Linked DNA regions of Homo sapiens: all the other regions are linked to region 2. The links are contacts of gene promoters, found by promoter capture Hi-C in blood cells and fetal thymus (Javierre and others, 2016). All regions are on one chromosome and are shown on one strand. The core of a region is centred on a gene start or on the middle of the fragment in contact, and the rest is flanking DNA. Distances in the headings are between cores, read along the strand shown. Region 1 holds the start of RNF8 (ring finger protein 8). Region 2 holds the start of BTBD9 (BTB domain containing 9). Region 3 holds the start of CMTR1 (cap methyltransferase 1).

Evidence for each region. The method cuts DNA at HindIII sites, captures the fragments that hold promoters and counts their contacts. A CHiCAGO score of 5 or more calls a contact.
Region 1: a fragment that was not itself captured here is called in contact with the fragment with the promoter of BTBD9 in region 2 in 1 of 17 cell types (fetal thymus); the score reaches 5.5 in fetal thymus.
Region 3: a contact is called between the fragment with the promoter of CMTR1 here and the fragment with the promoter of BTBD9 in region 2, in 1 of 17 cell types (naive B cells). The highest score is 5.2, in naive B cells.

The regions. Positions count from the first base shown.
Region 1 is chr6:37,352,431-37,357,207 of GRCh38, reverse strand. It overlaps RNF8 (ring finger protein 8), which reads right to left and starts at 3,225. Exons shown (of 8, transcript NM_003958.4): 1 at 2,933-3,225. The coding sequence starts at 3,043. RefSeq lists an enhancer at 2,923-2,972 and a silencer at 3,273-3,372. The HindIII fragment of the contact is 1,305 bases long and covers 677-1,981 here.
Region 2 is chr6:38,637,167-38,641,484 of GRCh38, reverse strand. It overlaps BTBD9 (BTB domain containing 9), which reads left to right and starts at 1,556. Exons shown (of 11, transcript NM_001099272.2): 1 at 1,556-1,685. It overlaps LOC105375044 (a long non-coding RNA gene), which reads right to left and starts at 1,090. Exons shown (of 3, transcript XR_926767.4): 1 at 1,001-1,090. RefSeq lists enhancers at 1,214-1,293, 1,094-1,594 and a silencer at 1,694-1,893. The HindIII fragment of the contact is 9,229 bases long and covers 513-4,318 here.
Region 3 is chr6:37,430,865-37,435,237 of GRCh38, reverse strand. CMTR1 (cap methyltransferase 1) reads right to left here and starts at 2,017. Exons shown (of 24, transcript NM_015050.3): 1 at 1,861-2,017. It overlaps LOC107986531 (a long non-coding RNA gene), which reads left to right and starts at 2,015. Exons shown (of 2, transcript NR_171666.1): 1 at 2,015-2,187; 2 at 2,303-3,010. RefSeq lists a silencer at 1,672-1,861 and enhancers at 1,862-2,141, 1,834-2,335. The HindIII fragment of the contact is 3,378 bases long and covers 1,207-4,373 here.

The sequences.
Region 1 (4,777 bases), core at 80-2,579, 1.3 Mb after region 2:
TGACGACCCATATGTGAGGGGTTGTTTTCATTTACAATAGTTTTGCAAGCCTTTGAGCTTACACACATTATTGATCTAAAAGATCATCCTGTCTTTGCCCACCTTCACTAAGACTATCTCTTTCCTCCTGGGCACAATTCCTACTGTTTCTCAAATAACAAGTAAATCTGGCCAGGTGTGGTGGCTCACACCTGTAATTCCAGCACTTTGGGAAGCCCAGGCGGGCGGATCACATGAGGCCAGGAGTTCGAGACCAGCCTGGCCAACATGGCGAAACCCCACCTCTATTGAAAACACAAAAAGTAACTGGGCATAGTGGTGCATATCTGTAATCCCAGCTACTTCGGAGGCTGAGACAGAAGAACCACTTGAACCAGGGAGGTGAAGGTGTGATCACACCACTGCACTCCAGCCTGGGTGACAGAAGGAGTACTCTGTCTCAAAACAAAACACCCCACAAAAAAGCCCCCAAACCAGTAAATATAACCATCCTTTCCCTTTTTTCCCTTGGGGCAGAAAACTTAATGAAAACTAAATACAAGAGAAGAAAAGGGGAGAGAAGGTTCTGTTGTTTTCCCCAAAGGCCTAGATACTTTATAGTACCTGAGAACTAGCTAATTTGCAATAAATCTCTACTTGTTTTTCCACCAAACTCTATGCATTGCTTTAACAAGCTTAAAGCCACTTAATTAGACAATTTACTACAGTGTTCCCATCAATGAAATGAAAGGAACCCTGTTTTATTATTTTATCCACAACATCTGAGACTAAGAACTGGAAAGGCAGGGAACTGACCTACCTTTGCTGTTATGTTATTAGCGTATCTTTTAAAATCTTGTGCAAAACAGCTTGTGCTATGATTTGGGGACCATAACAATAAGTACAACTTCTTCTCTTGCCTTTGATTCAGACTTCTTTTCAGGCTATGCTACGACCTGACCTTGCAGGCAGCCAAGCCTGGCAGGCTTCTCCTACACACAGGTCCCTGAAGCCAGCCACAGTCTTACCACTGAGTTTATATGGGTCCCTCCCCATGCAACTGGCCCCATAAAGAACTATCAAATGGTTTAGAATATGTCTAAGACTGCTTTATAGTCTTCTTGCCCTTTCTTCAGGTGCTTTAATTCGTCCTCCCCATCCCACCTGCCCAAGACTGCAGTACTGACAAGCTATTCAGAAGTCATAAATTAATCCACAACAATTGAATCTAAAGGAATAACACTTGCCCACTGAGTTATCTTATGAGGTTGTGTGTATGCAGGGATCAGATTAAGTAATGTATGTGAAATTAACTAATAGTTATGCACAAAAATAATTTATTTTTGTGTGTATTATTCAGGTTATTATTCAGGTGTTCGTGTTTTAATTTGTTAAACTTCCCACAAACATATGCTGTTGGAAAGGGCCAGGCAGGGAAAGATCAGTGCTCAAGCTAAAAGAATGAATGCTTAATGTGGACTTTTAGGCACTAATACCTGGATAGAAGAGGTATTTGGAGGCAGAGATGTTTTCTTGGTGTTCCTCAAACCACAGCATACAAGTAACCCTTTATAACACTCCCTAATCTAGCAATTAAATTTGTGCCTAGACATGAATTCCTCCTCTGACTTGAAGAACTACTGCTCTGGGAAGGAACTAAATAATCCAAATCTTAGCACTTGATCATACAGCCCATATGGATGTTCTTTATACGATGACTGCTTCATTGTATAAATCCTCTCTCCCCACTCAAGCCTTAAACTCTTCGAGCGCAGAAATTTTATTTGTCCTCATTGTACACCAAACAATGTTAAATACTCAGTAAATACCTGGCAGACTGAATTGAGGCAGTACGGCTTATAGGAAAAATCTACCTGAACACACATGAGACTCAAAATACTTCTTGAATTTACATCATGACCAACCATCCACTTTTACTGCAAAGAGAACTTTTCATACAGATTATTTCCAAAACCCAAATGGTTCCCAGTCATCACAAGCTTGTCCCTGACCCAGTTCTCCTTCTCAACCTGATTGCAATCTAACTCCCTCCTCCCTTCCCTCGTCTTTTCAAGATGCACCACGCTGGTGCATCTTGAACCGTGCCAGGAACGGTACCTCATCTTTCCCCTTAAAATATTTTTCATTTGCAACTGCATTAATAAAGACGACAGGCAGCCTCTGGAGAGAACTCTGAATACCTGCCCGACCCACCTCAGGGAGTGCCACTCGGCCGTACCGAGCCTCACAGGAGAAATGTGGCCCAGCCCAAGCCGCCCATGTTCCTCAGAGTTGGGAAGGAGGAAGACATTTCTACGTGAAAGTTTGATTGCTTTAAGGGACAAAACCCAAAATTTGCAATCGTTTTCAAAACAAACTCGAGAAAGTTCAGGCGCCGGGCCCTGCCTCGGCTTCCCGGCAGCTCGCGGCCCCCGCCACCGTTCCCCGACCTGGCACCGCGGGGCTCTGTGCGCCCTAAACGGGATCTGGCCAGCCCCCGCCCTCCCCTCCTCGACACCCCCGCATCTCCTCACGTTCCCTGCGCGTCCCTCTCCTCCCAGTCCCCGGCCCAGCTACCCGCTGACCCAGGCCTCTCTGGACGGGGCCCGCTTCTCGCCCCACAGGCCGCGGGTCAGGGCCTCCGTCCTCGCCCCAACCCTTGTGGCCCCCCCGGGCTCCCCAGAGCCGAACTCTCTTTTCTTCCTTTCTCCCACTCGGCCCCTATTTCTCCCCCAAACACCTCCCACCGCAGACCCTTCAGCCGCTCGCGCCAGAACCGCTTTCTCCCTTCTCTCCCCAGGAATCCACCCCCCCCACAGACACTTCGCTCCTCTTCCTGATGCCCGCCTCCTCTCTGCCATTCATTCAGCCCAGCAAGACACCTTCCTCCCTCCCCGGAGCCCCGCTCCCTCCAGCCCCTGCCCTCCGCTCCACAGGACCCCTTCCCCCGTACCTCGCACCCATCTTCCAGCAGCAGCCACCCGGCGCTCATCCCCACCCGCCGCAGGCACCAGCTCCGGCCACCGGCGCGGTCTCCTGTGACGAAGAAGCCGGGCTCCCCCATCGCCTACTCGACCCCGGGGGCGGTCAGCACCGAGCGAGACCCTGACCTAGGTTCTGGCTGCCTCTGTGCATCCCCTCAGCTTCCATATCTAAATAACAGACAGAAGCAATCGCCACACGCTCGCGATCGCTGCGAAAGCAGGCTCCGCTCGCCCGCCCTCGGCCAGGAAGCAGGAGCACTACGCCTGCGCAAGAGGACGGCGGCCGCCCTGGAGCAAAGAGGGTGGGTTGGGAGCCAATCCGGCCCTGGGCGGGGCGGGCGCGATTCGAGAGGTCTCCTCGCCTCACACCTTCCCTCGCCGCCTCCAGAACCATCACCCCAGTCCTAGCCGCCCCAGACTGGAACCTCTTCTCACCTTTCCTCTTTTTAAAAAAGTCATGTGAAACTATAGCCCACTTTTAAACAACTTTAAACTTTCCATCGGATTTAAGTCTGCCTAGTCTGTTGCTAAATAGTCTCTATTTTGCACGACCTACTTATATTACCGAAGTAAAAAATAAATTACACTAGGCAAATCTACAAAGACAAAGAGCACAGTTACCTGGGGCGAGGTGTGGGAGCGGGTATTGAATGCAGATGGGCTTGAAAAAATTGGAGGAAAGCGGTAATAGAAATGTTCTAAAAGTGGATTGTGGTGACAATTGTACAACTGTATAAGTTTATTAAAAAGTCATGGAAGTGTGGCCGGACGCAGTGGCTCACGCCTGTAATCCCAGCACTTTGGGAGGTCGAGACGCGCGGATCACTTGAGTTCAGGAGTTGTGACCAACCTGGCCACATGGGGAGACACCGTATCTACAAAAAAAAAAAAAAAAAAAGGAGGAAGGGAGGGAGAGAAAGGAAAAAAGAAAAAAAAGAAAAATTAGCTAGGTGTGGTGGTGCACACCTGTAGTCCGGCTACTTGGGAGGCTGAGGTGGGAGGATCACCTGACCCCGGGAGGCAGAGGTTGCAGTGAGCCGACATGGCGCCACTGCATCCCAGCCTGGGCGACAGAGTGAGACCCTGTAAAGTGAAGAAAGTGTAAACTTCCAGTGGGTGAATTTTATGGCATGTAAATTATACTCAATAAAGCTGTTAATTTTATTATTATTATTACTGATTACAGACAGGGTCTCGCCCTGTCACCCAGGCTGGAGTGCAGCCTGGAGTGGTGCGATCTCAGCTCACTGCAACCTCCGCCTCCCGGGTTCAAGAGATTCTCCTGCCTCAGCCTCCAGAGTAGCTGGGATTACAGGCACGCGCCACCACGCCCGGCTAATTTTTATATTTTTTGGTAGATACCGGGTTTCGCCGTGTCTCCTGGATTCAAGTGATCCAACCGCCTCAGCCTCCCAAAGTGCTGAGATTACAAGCATGAGCCCCCGAGCCCGGCCAATTAAAAAATTGTTTTTAAACTCAGCCTCTCCTTTGGATTTTCCATATAGTGTGATAGCTGCTGCCTGCAGTGAGTACATCCAATGGTTGAGCCCCTTTTGTCTTTTCAGTTTTCCAACACCCAGTTAACAATTTCTTTCTTCTTTCTTTCCTTCCTTCCTTCTCTTTCTTTCTTTTCTTTTTTCTTTCTCTTTTCTTCTTTCTCTCTCTTTCTTTCTCTCCTTCCTTCCTTCCTTCCTCCCTTCTTCCTCTCTTTTTTTTTTTTTTTTGCACAAGGGGAAAGAAGGAAAACAATTTTCCTAAATAAAATTCTGTCAAAAAACCAGCCGGGCTGGGCATGGTGGCTCATGCCTGTAATC
Region 2 (4,318 bases), core at 307-2,806:
AGTCACTCCTCTAGGCAAGAGTGAGTTGCAGACAGGTATAAGAGAAACCAGGAGAGTATTACACTAATGGATATCATTCCATATGGAAGAAAGACATTGTGAATGGAGAGTAAATGTTTCCCTAACAAACATATCCATATTTGAACTCATCATCATACTCCACATATCTGGTCATCCTCCTAAGAAATGTCACCATCACTATCTATAATAGTAACTTAGACACTTGTGGATAATCAAGACTCATGTAGCTTGCCATCTTGCTAAATGTTACCACTGTCTACCTCAGCACTCATGCTAGAAACCTGGCCTACTCATTTATCCGCACTCAGTGCTGTGAATTCTACCACCTTAATGGCGCTAACATCTATCCCCTCCTCTATTCCCACTGCCAATGCCTTGTTTAATGTTCTTATCACTTGTCTGGAGTACTGCAATGGCCTAAAAATGGGTCTCCCTGCCCCAAGCCTTGCTTTTCCTGACCATTTTCACTTTCTACTTTTACTCATGAAGCTTCCTTTGCCCGGAATTAAGTCCTTCCCAATTTGTCTCCTCCAACAACTGCAAGGGCGGTCCCCTAGCTTGCTCCAGCGTCGGGGATAACTGACTTTCCTACACCAGCTACAGTCAGACCTGCACCCGGATTTCTAGGACTCTTATCTATGTAGATAGATAAATACATTTTTTTGAGACAGTGTCTTGCTCTCACTGCAGAGGCTGGAGTGCAGCGGCGCGATCACGGTTCACTGCAATCTTGAACTCCCCAGGTTCAAGCGATCCTCCCACCTCAGCCCCCCGAGCATTTGTGACTACAGGCGCGCGCCAACATGCCCATTTAGTTTTTGTCTTTTTTGTAGAGACGGGGTTTCACTATGTTACCCAGGCTGGTGTCGAACTCCTGAGCTCAAGCGATCCGCCCACCTCGGCCTCCCAAAGTGCTGGGATTACAGGCTTGAGCCACCAAGTCAAATGGGCTTTATACTTACAAAGTACCTTTGCATACCTTATTTCATTTTCACCTCACAATTCTCCAGCGTAGGCTGGACCGGTATTATTATGCCCATTTACTGAGAGAGGAAACTGAGAGTCAAGGCTGGGCCAGTCACACCCTGCTGCGAAATTAACGAGCATCACTTAGCAGCCTCGACATTAACCGCGCTCGCGCTCTCATCCCTTTCTGGTCCTACTCCTTGGAGAACCTTCCTGCACCTCCAAGAACTTGCCGATCGGGTCTGCGGCGGTCTGGACGAGGTCACTCCACAGGCGCCCAGGACCTTCTCATCCGTAGTGACGTGCGCCGGTGACGCCATACAGTGACGTGTGGTGACTCGACTTACCCGGAGCCAGGTGCCGGCAGGGCAGCCACACCCTGGGGCCCCCTGTTCTGGAGGGGCAGAGGGTCGGGCCGATGCGAAAAAGCCGCGGAAGCTGCCTTAGGCGACTTTCTGGGCCTGCATCGCCGGACCCAGCAGCCCGCTGTCGATCGGTTGCTAAGTGACGCCAGCGCGCAGTGGCGCGTGCGCGGCCACGGCGGAGTGCGTGAAAGCGGACGCGCGCCGCAGCAGCCGGGGCGGCGGCGAGGACGGCGGCCACGGAAGCGGCCAAGGGGGCGGTGGCGCAGAGAGGGGTGCGGAGCGGGCGGAAGAGGCGTCTGTGTCGCAGCTTGGTCTCAGAGGAGCATCGCTGGGGTGAGTAGCCGGGTCCTTGCAGGGGAGGTGGGGCCTGGCCGCACCTGCGGCGCGGGGACGCGCGCCCCCGCCGTATCCGCGCGCACCGCCCCCCGCCCCTCCGCCGCTTTTTCCGGGGGCGGGGGAGGAGCTGGGACGGGGCCTGACGAGGGTCATTTCTTGGGCCCGGGTGCTCTGGGAGAGCGGTAGCCGTCCCGTTCGCAGTCCACGAAGGTGTAGTGGGAAGTAGACGTTTCGGGGATTCGGGGTGGCTCTACCAGCCTCCCAAAGAGAGGAGTTCGAATCAGGGGCAGCCCAGGTTCCCTAGCAGTCTCGTATCCTGTCTGAGACGACGTTGCCTGGGACTGAGGAGGCGAAACCCGGGACCCCGGGGTGGGGGTTTGGAAAGTTTGGGACTGCTGGGGCCCTCATCTCCCCTGCCCTGGCCAGCCTCTGAGTAGGAGCTGGTTGTTATGGAGAGAGTTGTGAATCAGTGCCTGCGTGCGGCATCAGACACACCCACGACCTTGGGAGGGCGACCTGTCAGTATAGATCCGGGGCAGCCAACCTGTTGCCTAGAGTTTCTAACTTCACATGTATGTGCATGTGTTTCCTTGGCGTTTTAGTACATTGTTGTTACAGATTTTGAGACCAAGGTGCTGATAGGCATCCTCATTTCTTACTTCCTCATAGACTTAGTTATCTTGCTATATTTCCCAGAACCGTGTTGTGCTTTTGTCATTAGTAGATCCAAGGAAGTATGGAAGCATGTTTTGTTTGTTTTTCCTAAAGGCAGTACAGGCTGCTATTTTCTGGGCAGAAAATACGGATTCTGTTCACTGTGTGGGCGGAAAGTGTTGATGATGGGAGAACCCAGCATGTAAAGGTGTAGCTCATCCTCAGCCCTGTGCTGTCTTCTCAGTGCTCTGGACTCTATCATGGGTAGATGTATAGGGGTTGTGGTTACCATACTTGGGAGCGAGGAATATTGGAGACAGGGAAGAAGCCAGTCTTTTCTTTCTGTTGATTAAGGCAATTTGTAGAACCAGTGAAAAGATAGGCTGTACTGAAATCTAATGTTTTGTGTAAGAGGATAGAGGAAAATAAGTTCAAGGTTCTCATTTAGGTCTAAAATTCTATGATTCTGTTTCATAACTGAGAATCTGTAAAGTATGTTACCTCTTGGAACCAGTAATAACCTTGCTTTGTAACACTTATTAGATTACTCGGAATTCAAAGTGTCTTCCTCCCTCCACTGTAATAGCTTTTAGGACAGGAGTCATCTGTGTTTTCCTCCTTGCCCTATGTCTAACACATAGGAAAAATGTGCTTGCCACAGAGTAGGCATGCAATGGATATTTGTTATATAGCACACTATGCTCAAGTGGTGTATCTATGTATAGAAAGCATTGAGTTCAGTCCATCAAGTACTTAATACATGTGCCTCCCTCTGCCCAGTATCATGATAGGTGTGGGAGGAGGATTATGGAGTGAAAAATGACATAGAAGACCTGTCTTTTTTTTCCCTTTGAGAGCAGTAGTCTAGCTAGGAGATGTATAAAATAATTATAAAACCAAGTTAAGTAGCAGGTAACCAGTGCTGTTTGAGGACTATAAATGTGGTAGAAAATCAGAAAAGATAGGATGTGTAGGCTGAGTTAGGGAACTCTTTGAAAGAGGCAAGATTTGACTTGGTCTCTGAAAGAAGTTAAAATTTGTTAGGAAATAAACCAGGAGCTGAGAAAATAATAATGTGAATTTGGTTGTTGGAGGATATACCAAGACGACTTTTATGTCTGGTAACTGGAGCGGAACGTCTCTTATAGGGGAATACTGGAGAGAGATGGCTTAGCAGGTTGGGAAGGCAAAGTGTTAAGGATTAAGGCGGGCTTATCAGCATCCCACTGTTAACAAGATACAGCCTTCTTGTAAGGTGGGATAGAGGTTGTATTAATCAGAGTACAGTCTTTGACAAGAATAAGTGTTATCCTTACTTGAAAGTAAAGGATATTACGCTTGAACCAATATCAGGTTGTTAATATACTTTTGATTTCAATTACTAATTGGAATCGATGCCTCACTAATGTGCATGTATTTTAGGTAGTCAGTGGTGCATGTCTCATTATCTAAAATCTACCTGATGTACTTGGGCCATTGTATTGGAAATTTACTGAAATGATGTACCAATAGTCATCCAGTCACACTCAGTGACATAGTTTTGCTTGGGATTATCTCTCTGAGGTTTGTCTTTACTGCTGATCCTGTAAAATATACAAATGTTAGTTGGGAAAGGAGTCTTTCTGATGAACGATGCTTAAAAATACTGACCAAAGAGATTTCAGAATAATTAAAGACCCTGCTGCTGAATATTGAACCCTTGGTCTTTATTTATAACATCTTCTGTTATGTGAAAATTCTTTTGAGTGGTATGTAAACCTGAAGTTGAATTGCTAACCAAGATGTGTAAAGTTACAACTGCAAATGTTGCATTATTTAACAACTCAGCAGATACTTACTGGGTGCTGGCTATGGCGAGACACTTCGTTGGGTGCTGGGAAGACAAAGAAGTTAAGACACAGTATATGCTCAGCATACTAAGTGTTCATCAGAAGAGATAAACCACTAACCATTATGTGCTGTGACAAATTAATCAC
Region 3 (4,373 bases), core at 768-3,267, 1.2 Mb after region 2:
CGAATAAATATTAACCAATATTCCCAAGGTGAAGGGACCATCCCAGAATGACTGTTTCATCAGCATTATTTTACCAAAACAATTAAGAAATTACATAATATCATAAAAATACTGGTTTTGGTTTACTTCATAATGTTTGAAAACATGAAAGAATTGGGAAAGTTTTTAAGCAGAGTAGGGAATGGAAGCAGTGAAATGACTTAAGACCGAGGAAACACAAGAGCGGGAAAGTTATTGGGACTGGAGGTAGCTATACCACAGAACTCAGTTACGAAAACAACAATTTTAAGGACAGAAATCCACCTCCACAAAAAAGAGTGGAAACCAGCTGGGCGCGGTGGCTCACGCCTGTAATCCCAGCACTTTGGGAGAAAGAGGTGGGCGGATCACCTGAGGTCAGGAGTTCAAGACCAGCCTGGCCAACATGGTGAAACCCCATCTCTAGTAAAAAAAACACAAAAATTAGCCGGGTGGTGGCACATGCCTGTAGTCCCAGCTACTCAGGAGAACCGCTTGAATTGCTGAGGCGGAGGTTGCAGTGAGCCGAGATCACACCACTGCACTCCACCCTGGGCGACAGAGCAAGACTCCGTCTCAAAAAAACAAAAAAGAAAGAAACAGGCACCATGCCACCATCAATCATCCATCCCCATGGTTAGGTACATGAGAGATAAGCACGAGAAAAAAATAAGATGGAATGAAGTGATTATGAAACCCTGAAATCTTAACGAATTATCAAGTTAAAGAGCAAGCAAGAGAAGTAGTGAATACAGTGTGGCTTACACACAACTGATTGGCTGTAGAGAACTCAGAAAAGAGGACTCAATACAGGGTGGGCGACAAGCTGGGAAACAATCCTTAGGGAAGGCGAGGTACAGCAAGAAAGTATTGAAACCCAAAAGTGTCACTGATGCTCCCAACCTCGTAAAACCCTGGATCACATGTTTCAGTTCTCTCCAACTCAAGGAAGAGCCAATCAACCCAATGCACAACCGCCACCTTCCTGAGAAAGCAGCCTCTTACTAGATACAGGCAGGGGCTGTCCCAGGGAAGAACCGGAGACACTGAGCAAACAGAAAGCAAGACCAAGCTAAGCCACATTTCACTTTAAGCCGTAGTCTTAAATACCCCCAAAAGGCCCCCAGGGTGAGATAAAGGAAGGCTCATCACAGAGCTTGCTTCTAGCCATTGCAAGCGCTAAAAGCTTTTAATTCTTAAGTGACTCGGGGGGAGACTGGAAGTACAGCAAACTCAAAGCGGACTGTTGAACAGCTGTGTGAAAGGCAGGAGAGGCGGATGCTCCTCCCCAAACCACATCACCTTAGATTTGGGCCTTCCAAATCATCTCATCCAACCCTATCATCTTCCACGGGAAAAGACTGCGGCCACAGAGGTGAAGGCCACACAGCTAACCAGTGCCCTGCTCAAGTGACCCACACATGCCAGCAGAATGCTCTGGCAGGGAACTTCTAAGCGGAAGGCAAGCGGCCTGGTTCTACCTGCTGCTTCCGCACAGAAGGGGTTCAAATCCCCTCTGCAGTCTTCTCTCCCTGGGCCTCGGTTTGGCACTGCCACCCCTAATCACAGAGAGAAGAGATAAGCTCCCATGTCTCCCGGCCAGTCCCTTCATTTGAAGATAACATGAGCGTGTGAATGTGTGCGCAGAGACGTGTGTCAGCGGCAGCTCGGGCTCCAGGGAGCCGGCGTTGGGGGTGGGAGGAGGAGGGAAGACATAAGGGGCCAGAAGGCGAGGAGACCCATAACCGCGGGCGGGGGGCCCAGGCGGCGGTGGAGGGGAGAAGGATGCTGAGCCCGCGCGCCCGCCCGCTTGCTCCCCCCGGGCCGCGCGTCGGCACTCACGCTGAGGGGAGAGAGCGAGCTGCCGGGGAGCGGAGGGGGGGTCAGGCCGACACTGTCGCCGCCGCTGCCAGAGCCGCCGCCTCCTCCCTCAGTTTCGTTTCCCCACAAGCCAGCCCGGGTCCGCCAGCCGCACCGTCGCGCTCGGGTCCAGTACTGCGGGCAGCGCAGCCTGATGACGTCACGGACAGCGCCGCGCCTCGGTCCTCCCCCGGCCGGGTCCCGGCCCCGGGAAAGGCAGCTGAGGTTTGGCCCGCTCCACCTCTCAACCTGGGAGGTCCAGGGGCGCCTGCGCGGAAAAGCCGCCCGGAAAAGGCTGCAAAAGCAAAAGTAACTATCTCCTCCTTTGGCTCTGAGGAAGAGAAACCAATACAAAAATTGTAAGTGCTAGGTGCCCTCACACGACCTCATCTTACTTAATCTTATCATTATCTTCATTTTACAGACTAAGAACAAGTTCAGAGAGGTAGATGGTAAACTGGTTGAGCGAACGCAGTGTTCTTGTTCCCTGCTGTATCCCCAACATCCAGCCTATGGGACATCTCAACAGATTTTGAACGAAGGACGGGAGGACAGAAGGAATGCCGCCTGTAGCATCTTACCATATGGGCACAGTTGGCTCTCCATCTCAAACCTCTCTTCTGATTTTCAGGCCAATATGGCCAAACGTCTGTTGGACATCCTCACTCAGTCACCTCAAACCCCATGAATTCAAATTTCACCTTATGTTCTTCCATCAGCTCACTTTTTTCCTGGTGAAGGGCGCTGCCATCCATCCTGTTGGTCCAGCTAGAAATCTGAGGAATCTCCCTCTTCTTCATACCCCAAAGTTTCTCATACACTTAATTGCGCTTACCTCCTAATTGTCTTTCAAATCCATCCATTCACCCCCATCCCCATTGCCACAATTCATGCACTTACCCCCTCTCGGCAGAATTTCTCCAGTAACTCCAAACTCCCGTGACTGTCTCCAGTTGTGATCCCTCTAATGCGTTCTTCACAAAACCAAAGTGATTTTTATAATTTTCAACACCTGTGAAAAGAAGGGAATTTAAAATTGATTAATTAAACCTGATCCTGTCACAACCCAACAATGATTAAAATCCATCAATGATGTCCCATTGCTCTTAGAATAAAGCTAATGTCCTTAAAATGGCCTCTGAGACCCTCCAGCATGACCCCTTCTTCAGGTATGCCTTGTACTGCTATCCCTTAGTTCTCCCCATGCTGACTCTTCTCAGTTTATCAAATATGCCGTGTCTCCGCCGGGCGCGGTGGCTCACACCTGTAATCCCAGCACGTGGGGAGGCTGAGGCGGATGGATCACCTGAGGTCAGGAGTTCGAGACCAGCCTGGCCAACATGGTGAAATCCCGTCTCTACTGAAGATACAAAAAAAGTAGCTGGGTGTGGTGGTGCGCACCTATAGTCCCAGCTACTCAGTAGGGTAAGTCAGGAAAATCGCTTGAACCTGGGAAGCAGAGGTTGCAGTGAGCAGAGATTGCACCACTGCACTCCAGCCTGGGCGACAGAGCCAGACTCCATCTCAAAAACAGAACACAACAAAACAAAACATGCCATGTCTCTTAAGAGTTCAGCCCCCTGCCTGGATCATGCTTCTCCTCTTTGCTGGGCTAATGTCCATTTATCCCTCAGGAGTCACTTTAGTGTCCCTATCTCGAAATATTTCCTGATGTCACAAATCTAGGTTGGGAGACCCACCTCTGAGCTCCTAAAGCACTCTGTCCTTCCACTATCAAAGCACTTACCACGGTGTTGTATAATGGCCTGTGGACTCATCTGCCTCCCCGACTCAGCTGTAAACTCTGTACAGGAAAGATTGTCTGTCTGTATTAAATTCACAAGATTTAACAGAGGCTGGTGGTCAGTGCTCAATAGATATTTACTGAATCTGTGGAAGTGTGGAATATGAATGAAGGTTGAGTGATATGTTCAAGATTACAGAGCTAGGAAGCAGCAAACAGGTATTTACCTAGTTCTCTATGTTCTAAAGTTTAGTGTCCTTCTTTCCACCTCACTGAGGCTTCTTAGCATGCATTATGACATGAACACTTTTGGTAATCTTGTAGAGCTTATGGACCCATTCTCAAAATAATAATTTGAAGGGTATAAAATAAGGTATAGGAAATGAGTTATATTGAAAAAGTTAACATATTTAGCAAATTTAATGATTTAATTTTTATGTAAAGCATTAAATAATGAGAGAATGCATTCAAAATATAGTCAAGTTAAAGTTAAATTTTATTTTTTAATGTATATGAGTATACCCAATGAATAGTGCTGGAAAAAACAGATAAATATATAGGGAAACACGAACTTTGAATCTTTTTTTTTTTTTTTTTTTTTTTGAGACGGAGTCTTGCTCTGTCACCCAGGCTGGAGTGCAGTGGCACAATCTCCGCTCACTGCAAGCACCACCTCCAGGTTCACGCCATTCTCCTGCCTCAGCCTGCCGAGTAGCTGGGACTACAGGCGCCCGCCACCACGCCCGGCTAA